Regions from separate parts of the Homo sapiens genome. Here region 2 is linked to region 1. Evidence: promoter capture Hi-C in human tissues and cell types (Jung and others, 2019). All regions are on one chromosome and are shown on one strand. Each heading gives the region's core, a stretch centred on a gene start or on the middle of the fragment in contact. The rest is flanking DNA. Distances are from core to core; before and after follow the strand shown. Region 1 holds the start of AP5B1 (adaptor related protein complex 5 subunit beta 1). Region 2 overlaps LOC124902693.

Evidence for each region. The method cuts DNA at HindIII sites, captures the fragments that hold promoters and counts their contacts. A contact is called where the count stands out against the background at its distance.
Region 2: a contact is called between a fragment that was not itself captured here and the fragment with the promoter of AP5B1 in region 1, in 3 of the 25 tissues and cell types used here (dorsolateral prefrontal cortex, lymphoblastoid cells and spleen).

What each region holds. Positions count from the first base shown.
Region 1 is chr11:65,778,360-65,783,320 of GRCh38, forward strand. AP5B1 (adaptor related protein complex 5 subunit beta 1) reads right to left here and starts at 2,617. Exons shown (of 2, transcript NM_138368.5): 1 at 2,083-2,617; 2 at 1-1,983. The coding sequence starts at 2,232. RefSeq lists silencers at 1,691-1,960, 2,111-2,290, 2,331-3,070 and enhancers at 1,699-2,601, 3,331-3,988. The HindIII fragment of the contact is 21,769 bases long and covers 1-4,961 here.
Region 2 is chr11:65,811,921-65,816,881 of GRCh38, forward strand. The region is part of intron 3 of LOC124902693; the gene reads right to left. Among named protein-coding and RNA genes, the nearest start is that of SNX32, 20 kb to the right of the region's middle. The HindIII fragment of the contact is 6,430 bases long and covers 1-4,961 here.

The DNA.
Region 1 (4,961 bases), core at 1,367-3,866:
ATGGACAGCCTCCAGGGGTGCATACAGCTGTCCTTCCACACGGAAGCGCAGCTCCAGAGAGTAGATGGGCTCCAGCGCCTCCGGCTGGAGCTTCAACACTGGGAGTGGGCCCTTGACCCGATGGGACCCCAGGCTCAGCCGTACCAGGGCCGGTGCCTCCTGCACCATCAGTGCTGCCACAAAGCCCTGGTTCTCGGCCACCAGTGAAGAGGCCAGTGCAGGTGCGGCAAGCGAGGGGCCCAGGGCCACCCCCAACTTGGGTGCTGCCAGGTGTGCCAGCAGGATGTAGTAGAGGCGGGCGTGGTCACGCCCATCAGGGTCCTCCAGCTGCCTGGCCAGCACCTGCAGCAAGTCGACCAGGCCGCCCCTCACCCCTGCCCGCAGCAGCGCCCGGCAGACCCGCAGCAGGCCCTGCTGTAGGTCCCAGTTCGTGCAGTGGGCAGCCGCGGCCTGTAGAAAGTTGAGGGTAGCACTCTGGGCATCTCCATCTGCCACCTTTGCCAGCATTTGCAGGTGCCAGCAAAGAGCTTCATCCCTGCCCGGCCTGGACACCACCACCTGCCGCAACACCACCTTCAGGGGCTCCCTCAGCTCAGAGTCCACCTGATCCAAGAGGTCCACAAAGTGGGGAGCCAGCATGGGCCGGGCTTGGTACAGCTGGGCCAGTCCGTGGATCAAGGGGGTCAGCACCGTAGGTTGCCCAGCCAGGCAGCAGGCCACCAGATACGAGGCCTGGAAGCAGAGAGTGGCCAAGGCCCGGGGGCCCCCATCCAGGGCTGCCCGCTGCCGCAAGCCAGCCAGCAGCTCTTCCAGGTAGTGCCGTGGGCTTGGAAGCTGGCCTTTCTCCTCTTCTTCCTCCTCGGCACAGAGCAGGCACAGTAAATGCAGGCGGGCCAGGAGGGCCATTGGGTCATGCAGGAGACTGGGCAGGAGACCACGGCATAGCTGGGGCCCTAGCAGCAGTGGGGCAGCCTCCTCACCTTCAGGGCCCAGCGGCCAGTTCTCAGGGAAGCTCAGGACGCAGTGAAGGTAAAAGAGATGGGTGGGCGGAGGCAGAGCAGGGTGCTGGGCAGCCAAGGTGAGCCGGCGGAGCAGCAACGCTTCATCCTGGGCTGTGAACAAGGCCTCACCAAAGGCCGCCTTGAGCGCAAGCATGGCGTGCAACAGTGTCAGCTGTGCTGTGCCTAGCAGCCGTACCAGCTGCGGCTTGAAGAGTGCCGGTGGCTGTCCCTGCAGACCCCGCAGGGCCCAGCCCAGCAGCCACAGGAGCTGGGCCTGGGCCACAGGAGTGAGCAGATAGGAGGTGTCCAGAAGCTGGATCACCGCAGCCCGCAGCTCCCGCGCCTCCTCAGGGCTGTGCTCTCGTGCTGTAAGGCTACGCTCCCCCTCTCCCTCCTCAGCTGCCGGCCAGCTGGGTGCCTGGGGCTGAAGGCGTCCATCGCCCTCCTCCACTAGTGTCCAATCCCAGGGACCACCCCCAGTTGGGGAGACCTTATCCGTGAGCAGTCCCCCCAGGCCAGCCCCAACCCGGGACTGGAGCACCAAGGTGTTGCGCAAAGCGAGGGCCAGCAACAGGCTGAGTGGCTGGACAGGGCCTTCCTGCCCCAGCAGGCCCCGCAGCAACCCCAGGGAGCCCCCCAGCAGCCCGGGCTTGCAGCTCTCTAGCTCTCGCAGGCACTCGCAGGCCGTGGCCTGCAAGGGGCGCTGTTCCGAGGCGGGGACAAAGCCTCGCCCCAGATCGCTACCCGCGGCCAGGCCGAGCAGTAGGGGCAGGAGCCGGCAGGAGGCGCCCGAGGTGGGGCCCAGCGCGCCGCCCGCCGCCAGGGCAGTGGTGGCCGCCAGCAGCAGTGGCCGACGGAGAGCTGAGGGCCGCGGGGGTAGGAGGACCAAGGTGTCCAACAGGGAGGTGGCGGCCACTTCGGCCGCAGAGGCGTCGGGCCACAGCTGCGCAGGGTACTCCATGCTCAGGGCCAGCAGGGAAACCTGGATGGGGGATTAGGAGGGAATCACGAAGATGAGGTTCATGACGCGGCGGGCTGGGGTGACCCTGCGGAACGGCGCAGGGGACGCGTGGGGGCCTACCTTGGTCTGTTCGCTCAGCTTCTCACTTCTCAGGTCGCTCAGCAGGTCGCGACCCAAATCCTCCCCCTCGGGACCTGCCATGAAGGCAGACGGGCTGGCCCGGAAGGCCCCCAAGCGCTGGGCCCAGGCGTCCCGGCTCAGGGGCCCCATGGTGAGGCGCGCGGGCCCCTGCGCAGGGAAGAGGGACCCTCAGGCCGCAGCCACCGGGAGCGCGGGGCCCGCTGCCGACCCCGAGGGGCTGCGGTCACCCCCAGACGCCGCGCAGATGCCGGCGGGACCCGCGCCCGGCTCCCACGGTGAGACCAGGGCTCTCGGGGCCGACGCCAGAGCTGGGCGCCGGGGCCCTCGCGGGACAGGACAGGAGCAGGGCGGGGGAGGGTGCGTGCCGAGAGCTCGTTAGGCCGCCTCCCTCCCGCCCGCGGCCCGCACCGAAACCACAGCGCCACCCCGGCCCCCGGCGCCGGCGGTAACGGGCCGCGCTCGCCGCCTGACTCAGCCGCCGCGGGCACTCAGGCCGGCCGGCTCCTTCCGGGCTGGCGGCGCGGGGCGGGGCGCGGCGCGGGGGCGGCCGAGTCCGGGCGGGGAGGGGCGGGGCGTAACGGGGCCACCGCCTCCCGCAGGTGTCGACTCGCAGGTTTCGCGGGGGCTGACTAACTGTCCCGCCGCGCAGGCCCCCTTCCCCGAAACCGCCGCAGGCCGGGGCAGGAAAGGCGGAGGGGAGTGGGTAGGGGTGGCGGAGCGGGGTGGGCCTGGGCCCCAGATGCCGGGTACCGCGGCGCAGGGCTGCGATCCCGCGGCCCTCGGCGGACAGCGGCCCGGTCCCACCAGCGCCCGCCAAGCCGCGCAGGGCGGCAGCCAGCGCGCCCCCCGCCGGCGCCCGGGCACACCGCACCCTGCGCCAGACGCGCGGCCCCGGGGGGCGTGGGTGCGGGTCCTGGGGCTCCCGGAGTGGCCCCTGGGGGTGACCAAGGTGCGGTCGCAGGGCGCCCGCAGGAAAAGCGCCCCAGCTGAACCGGTCCGGCGGGCGCCGCAGGGCTTGGCTTCGCTTCCCTGACGCCTGCCCGGGCCCCCAGCCCGCTCGGCTTGGGGGCGAGGAGCCGGCGCCGCGGTTGCGGCCAGCCAGGAGCTTCTGACCTTTGTTTGCCCGAGGCCGCGCTGGCGGCCCGCAGGGGTCGTGACGGCGAGGGCGGGGCAGGGCCCTAAGTCGAAAACAACGGGATCCATACTCGGGAAGTGCGGGCTGTCAGGGCCTGGCCGGTCACGGGGCTCGAGGCATGCCTAGCGATGGGGAAAACAGGCCCAGGAGGAGGGCGGCCTTGCCAACCGAGATCTGGGGCCAAGCCGGGCCGGAACCCAGCACTCCAGACTTCAGTGGGCTGGATTCTGGCTGTTTGGGGGCATTCGGGGGTCTGGGCGGCGGTCTCTCCCAGGCCAGAGGCCCAGGTTGCAGGTGCCCCACAGACCACCGGTTTCCAGGGCACAGAACCGCCGGCGCCCAAACCTCACCACCCCTCTGGCTCCAATTAGCCGCTTTGAAGATGAAACAGGCCTGAGCCCCCATGCAAGCCAGTGCCAGCTGGCCTCTCCCTACCCCATCCTGCTCCAGATGGGAGGTGGTGGAGAGTTGAGGGGTGGAGAGTGCCAAAAAGGAGGCTGTCTGGGTGCCCTTGGGGATGGAGAGATAGAGACCCACTCGGAGGGACAGGTCCAGCCAGAAGGCCCGGTCCCGGCTCCTCTAGGCCCTGGCTCCACAGTTGACTCACAGGCAGCAGCCCCAAACTACTTCCCTCTAGGTGCCTCAGTTTCCCCATCTATAAAATGGGAGTGATAACTCCCACCCAAGAGGCTGTGGGGTGAGGCAGCCTGGCTAATTAAACCCAAGATGAAAGAGGCAGGATGAGAGCAGCCCTGGGGAGGGGAGGCAGCCTGCAGTAGGAGCCAGTCTGGTTTCTCTGTCTGAGCCCAGAGGGTGCTGGTAACTGCACATCCCCGGCCCTCACCACCCTCACGGTGAGGCAGGAATGATCATTAAACTTCTTGCAGAGTTGAGAAGACAGGTTTCCAAGGATCAGGGGGCCTGACACTGGCTCTGGCCCCGGCTCAGCCTCTGACAGCGTGGCCTCTGCACACCTCCTGCCTGAGTCTTGACTCCTTGAGGCTGAGGGTCTGGAGGGAGGGAACCCACTTGTGGTCTCCAATACTGCAGTGGACGAATCCGCATGGACTTACTGAGGCTCACAGCAACCCCAGGTACCGAGAGTGGGTATCAGATGAGGAAAGGGAAGCCCACAGAGGTACGGTCTCTCAGTCACAGAGCCCCTCAGAGGTGGAGCCTCGACTTCCACAAACAGCCCCTTGTTGCATCTGACCTGGTCCTCCCCCCACACCAGGTACCCTCGGCCCTCTTGGGTGTCCAGGTCCCTGGATGGGCCCTGTTCTCACCTGTCTGCTCCCCTATTGGCGGGTGGTGCTGGCTCTGTCCCTGGCAAGGCCAGGCATGGAGCTGAGCTCAGACTGTCACCGGACTCACCCGGGACAGCAACATCCCAGTCGAGGGCCCAGGTGTGGGCCACTGCCGGATGCTGAGCTGGGAATTCCCCACTCCACGCCCTCCCTCATTTCTTCTCCTGCTGAGTTTCTGTCCTCCCCATGCAGCCCAGTTGTGGGCAGACACTAAACACAAGGCTTGTAAAAGGGAAAGTCAGCTTCCCAAGGGGTCCTGAGCCTCAGTTTTCTCATCTGTAAAATCGGGCTACAACAAACACACTCTCGCAGCACTGGCTGCTGGGGATACAGGAAGGCTTAGGAAAGAACGAGTCAATAGGCAAAGCCATGGAGATAGAGCAGATAGTGGGTGCTGGGCCAGGGGGAAGGGAGAC
Region 2 (4,961 bases), core at 1,359-3,858, 34 kb after region 1:
TGCCGGCCTCAGCCACAGCTGTCCTCTACCCACACTGCCGCCTGCCGCAGGCCACAGCACCGTCAGCCGAAAAAGCCCACTGATATCTGGGTTACAGGGCTTGAGGCTGCCTTGATTTCTGGCTAACAGCTGGGCCGTCCTCGGCAAGAGCTCTCCTGGGAACGGGTTGGGGAGATTCCCCGTGCCCTGTCATTCTGATGTCTCCCTGCACAAGGGAGCGGGTTAACCATGTCCTTGCCACCTCATCTTCGAAAACAACTCATAAAAGCGCATCAGAGGAAACAGTCTTTTCATCCCACCTATCATTAGTTCCCAGAACAGGGGCTGGAAGTAGGCAGCCTCCCTGGGAGTTTGCGGGATGAGGCAACACCGGCGCCTGAGCTACCATTTAGCCTATTTCTAGAGATAAGCCTGTTGATGTCAAAGTAAGGAATGACCAACTCCAGCCAACAGCGCCCTGTGGGACTGGGTCTGTGACATCTCCTTTCTCCCAGGCACCATCCCCAGGGCAGGAGACAGGAACCCTAGATCGTGGGGGTTTGTGAACTGACCTAGGTAAATAATAACAAGTTGGGCTGCACTCTCCTTGAGGTAATTCAAAGTACTTTATCACCATTACCTCACTGATCTTAACTAACATCCAAGGAAGGAAGGAAAGAAAAAAGGCAGAAGCTTTCTCATTTCCTAAAACAAAAGTGAATGGGGGCTGGGTGCGGTGGCTCACACCTGCGATCCCAGCACTTTGGGAGGCCAAGGCAGGTGGATCAGCTGACGTCAGGAGTTCGACACCAGCCTGACCAATATGATGAAATCCCGTCTCTGCTAAAAATACGAAAACTTAGTCGGGTGTGGTGGTGGGCACATGTAATTCCAGCTACCCAGGAGGCTGAGACAGGAGAATCGCTTGAACCTGGGAAGCAGAGGTTGCATTGAGCCAAGATCTCACCACTGCACTCCAGCCTGGGCAACAGAGCAAGACTCCATCTCAAAAAAAAAAAAAAAAAAAAAAAAGTGAATGGGGAGTGGGAGCTTTTAGGTGAACCAGCTCCTATTCACCTATGGTCAGTGAAGAATAAGTACCTCAAATATACACAATAACACTAATGGGGATGGGGGAGGGCATACAAATGAACTCCAAAGCCCTGACTGTGGCCCATAGCCAGAGAAAACAAAAAAGATTCCTGATTTGGGGAGAGGAGTCCTCAACTGGGAGTTTGACAGTTCAGACTGATTTCAAAAGACAGGCTGAATTTTACCCCTCTGTGCTAGAAAGGGTATCGAACCATAAATTCCCCCTGCCCTGACTTCACCAAACTTTGTAAATAACAGAGACGCGCACCCGAGTAATTAGAAGAAAAAGCTAAGTGGCTTGTCAGCTAAGTGGCTTGAGTAGGCATAGGTGTGGCTGGAAGCATTCTGTGTATTTTCTCTACAGCCAAATGTGTAAACGGTCAGAAATACTAGTTTAATGAGCTTATAAATTTGGAGTGACTCTTTACATCTGACAGTGAGGTCTGGGGTTCAACTATTTCACCTCTGAAATCAAAGAGGCTGTGATGGGGTATTCATCTCTTACCAATTCTTTTTTTTTTTTTTTCTTTTTTTGAGATGGAGTTTCGCTCTTGTTGCCCAGGCTGGACTGCAGTGGCGCAATCTCAGCTCACTGCAATCTGTCTCCCGGGTTCAAGCAATTCTCCTGCCTCCGCCTCCTGAGTAGCTAGGATTACAGGCGCCCACCACAACGCCCGGCTAATTTTGTGTATTTTTAGTAGAGACGGGGTTTCATCATGTTGGCTAGTCTGGTCTTGAATTCCTGACCTCAGGTGATCCACCCACCTCGGCCTCCCAAAGTGCTGGGATTACAGGTGTGAGCCACCACGCCCGGCCCATCTCTGACCAATTCTTCCAGAATGTTCCACAGGTTTCTTCTTCACACTTTATGATTCTATTTTACTGACCCAAACAATTCGCCCTCCAATGTTTCGTGGAGGGGATAACAACTCTGGGTATTTGAAGATGTTTTCTGACATCTTATCTGTTTCCTTCCCTCCTTGGTCTGCGCTGGGCTACCTGAAATGCCTCCTACACGCGCGCTTCCCTTATGAACATTCATTAGATGGGTACTTGTCCTGCTTAACTCCTACAAATTCACAAGTTCTCTAATGCTCAAATTCAAAGCACTTGCATCTCTAGGTAATCACTGTTTGCTAAAATGCTCTTTAGCTTTTTCTATCTACAATGTTTCTAAACGTTAATTTAATTGAACTTAAAAGCGATTGTGCATAATGTGCCGCAACTTGGCACTCAGCTCATGTAAACAGTGTCTTGCTGACAGGGTAGGTCTAGTGCAGGAAATAACCGCGTCAGCAGCGCTGTCCCACATAGGACTACAAATCCATGACAGCCTCAGGGGCTCCCCACGAGGCACAATGGGTGATGTCATTCTTCTGGGGCTTGGCTAGGCCATGACTGGGTCTAGAGGCACTCTCTCTTCCCAGTCCGTTTTTAGAACTAATATTTGCAATGCCACTTCCACATTTCCCTCTATTTCTGATTCATGTCAGCCTGAGGCCTGAGACAGAACAAGCCTGCAGCTGAACACATGGTTACCACTTTTTTTCCAGAACCTTAGGAAAACGTTGTTAATGTTCAGGGCTATGAGTGACCTTGCCGTCCCACATCATGGAACTATTTATTAAACAGATGGATGGACAACCTTATAATTAGGTCAACTACGTATACTCCGATTCAAGCCCTTGGTTTCATTCCTTTTCTCTCTAAGATTAGGGAATTTCTCAATGACCAATAACGCAGAAATACACCCCCTCACATCCCGAGGGAGATTGCTCAGCCTACAGCCACCCCGTGAAGATCCCATGACTTCTGGCATCTGCCCTAATAACCCAAGTCTCTTATCTGTGAGTTTTGGTTTGTCAGACCCTGTTGTTCGCATTAATCTTCCTGTGCCTGTGAGGACAGAACCCGGACAAAGTGGGAGTCCTGAACCTGCGTATGCTGGTTGAATAGGTAAACACCCTCAGATAAGGAGGCCTTGGGAAAACCATTGTGACGTCCTAAGAATGCAAGGTGTAAAAGTTCCAATCCCACTCTCCCACCCCTAAACCAGTTGAGACACAGACCTGCCCTTCCCCAGGTTGACTTGGCCCGACTAGATAGCATCTGCAATCTGCACTCGCTCCCTCCCTCCCAAGTGAATCAGTCCCCAACCGGTTACCTCCCCAGGCTCCTTGGAGACAATGCCAAGTACAGCCTAGGGGGTGATGGCTCCATTTGAGGAGCCTGGCATCTTGGAGAGTGCCACCCCAATCCCCCGCTTTGGGCAGGTGCATAGGGAGGACTCAGGAAAGAGGTGTTCTGCCATGGACCAGTCCAGGTCCAAAAAGTCTCGAGAAGCGCCCGGGAGCCAGGAGAAAAGCCGAGAGATGAAAGGAGATGCCTGAGGTGCCGCAGCCCAGGTCTGAGCCGGGCTAGAAACCGCGTGACAAAACAAAGATGCGTTCTTAGCCGTGATGGAACTCCCAGATTAGCTTGGCTTTCTTCCTTTTGTTTTGTTTTGTTTTATTCATCTCTGTCGCATCTATTTTCCTCTGGGCATGTGACACTTCCACTCTTTCTCTTCTTTAGTCCTCTTCCAGAAGTTCTGTTCTGTGCTGGATTAGGTCAGGAGTGATGGATTGTTCTTATACACACGGGATATGGTGGATGAATGTGTTGATCTGACACTCACTGAGAGTTCTAAACAGGGAATTATAGCAGTGACAAGTGGTGAAAGACATGGCCCCTGCCTCTTGAGCTTCTGTGGGACCCAGCAGGCTGGAGGGGCGCACCCAGCTTTATGCATCTGCCCTCAGGAGAGCTGCACAGGCTCCAATTTTTCTACTTTTATTTTTAATTTAATTTTTTTTTTGAGATGGAGTCTCACTCTGTCATCCAGGCTGGAGTGCAGTGGCACAATCTCTGCCCCCCAGGTTCAAGCGATTCTCCTGCCTCAGCCTCCCAAGTAGCTGGGATTACAGCTGCCTGCCACTGCGCCCAGCTAATGTTTGTATTTTTAGTAGAGACAGGGTTTCACCATCTTGGCGAGGCTGGTCTTGAACTCCTGACCTCGTGATCCACCTGCCTTGGCCTCCAAAAGTGTTGGAATTACAGGCGTGAGCCACCGCGCCCGGCCTCAGGCTCCGGTTTTTCTAAATGAAAGCCTCATCTCTTACTGACCCACTGGGTAACTGAACCCTTGATTTTCATGTAAGACTGATCTCTTGGCCTGGCGCAGTGGCTCACGCCTATAATCCCAGCACTTTGGGAGGCCAAGGCAGGCAGATCACCAGATCAGGAGATTGAGACCATCCTGGCCAACATGGTGAAACCCCGTCTCTACTAAAAATACAAAAATTAGCTGGGTGTGGTGGAGTGCACCTGTAATCCCAGCTACTTGGAAGGCTGAGGCAGGAGAATGGTTTGAACCCAGGAGGCAGAGATTGCACAGTGAGCCAAAATCACGCCACTCCACTGCAGCCTGGCGACAGAGCGAGACTCCGCCTCAAAAAGAAAACAAACAAACAAACAAACAAACAAAAACGGATTTCCCGCTGGTAACAACTGGTTAATTAGTCTCTGGTTTTCTGTCCTTCTAGTCAAATGCTCCAGAAGAGCTCTGTATTTAAATACGCCCAAGTATGAATCTCTGGTCAAGTGAAGACTATTTCTAGAAAACAAGTAAGTCTTCCCAAATTCATCTGCCTCAGCTAGGACTGGCATAAATCACTTTTTCTTGAATTGGTCTCCATTGCATATCCCATTTTCTTCTCATCTTTTTTTTTTAATTGCCAAACAAGATGTATGCCACCCAAGCCACAAAATGGCAGGCAACCAATTTCTGTCCTGCTACATCCAAAATTCTCTAAGGTTCTACAAATATGAGCAATGATTACCAAAGGACT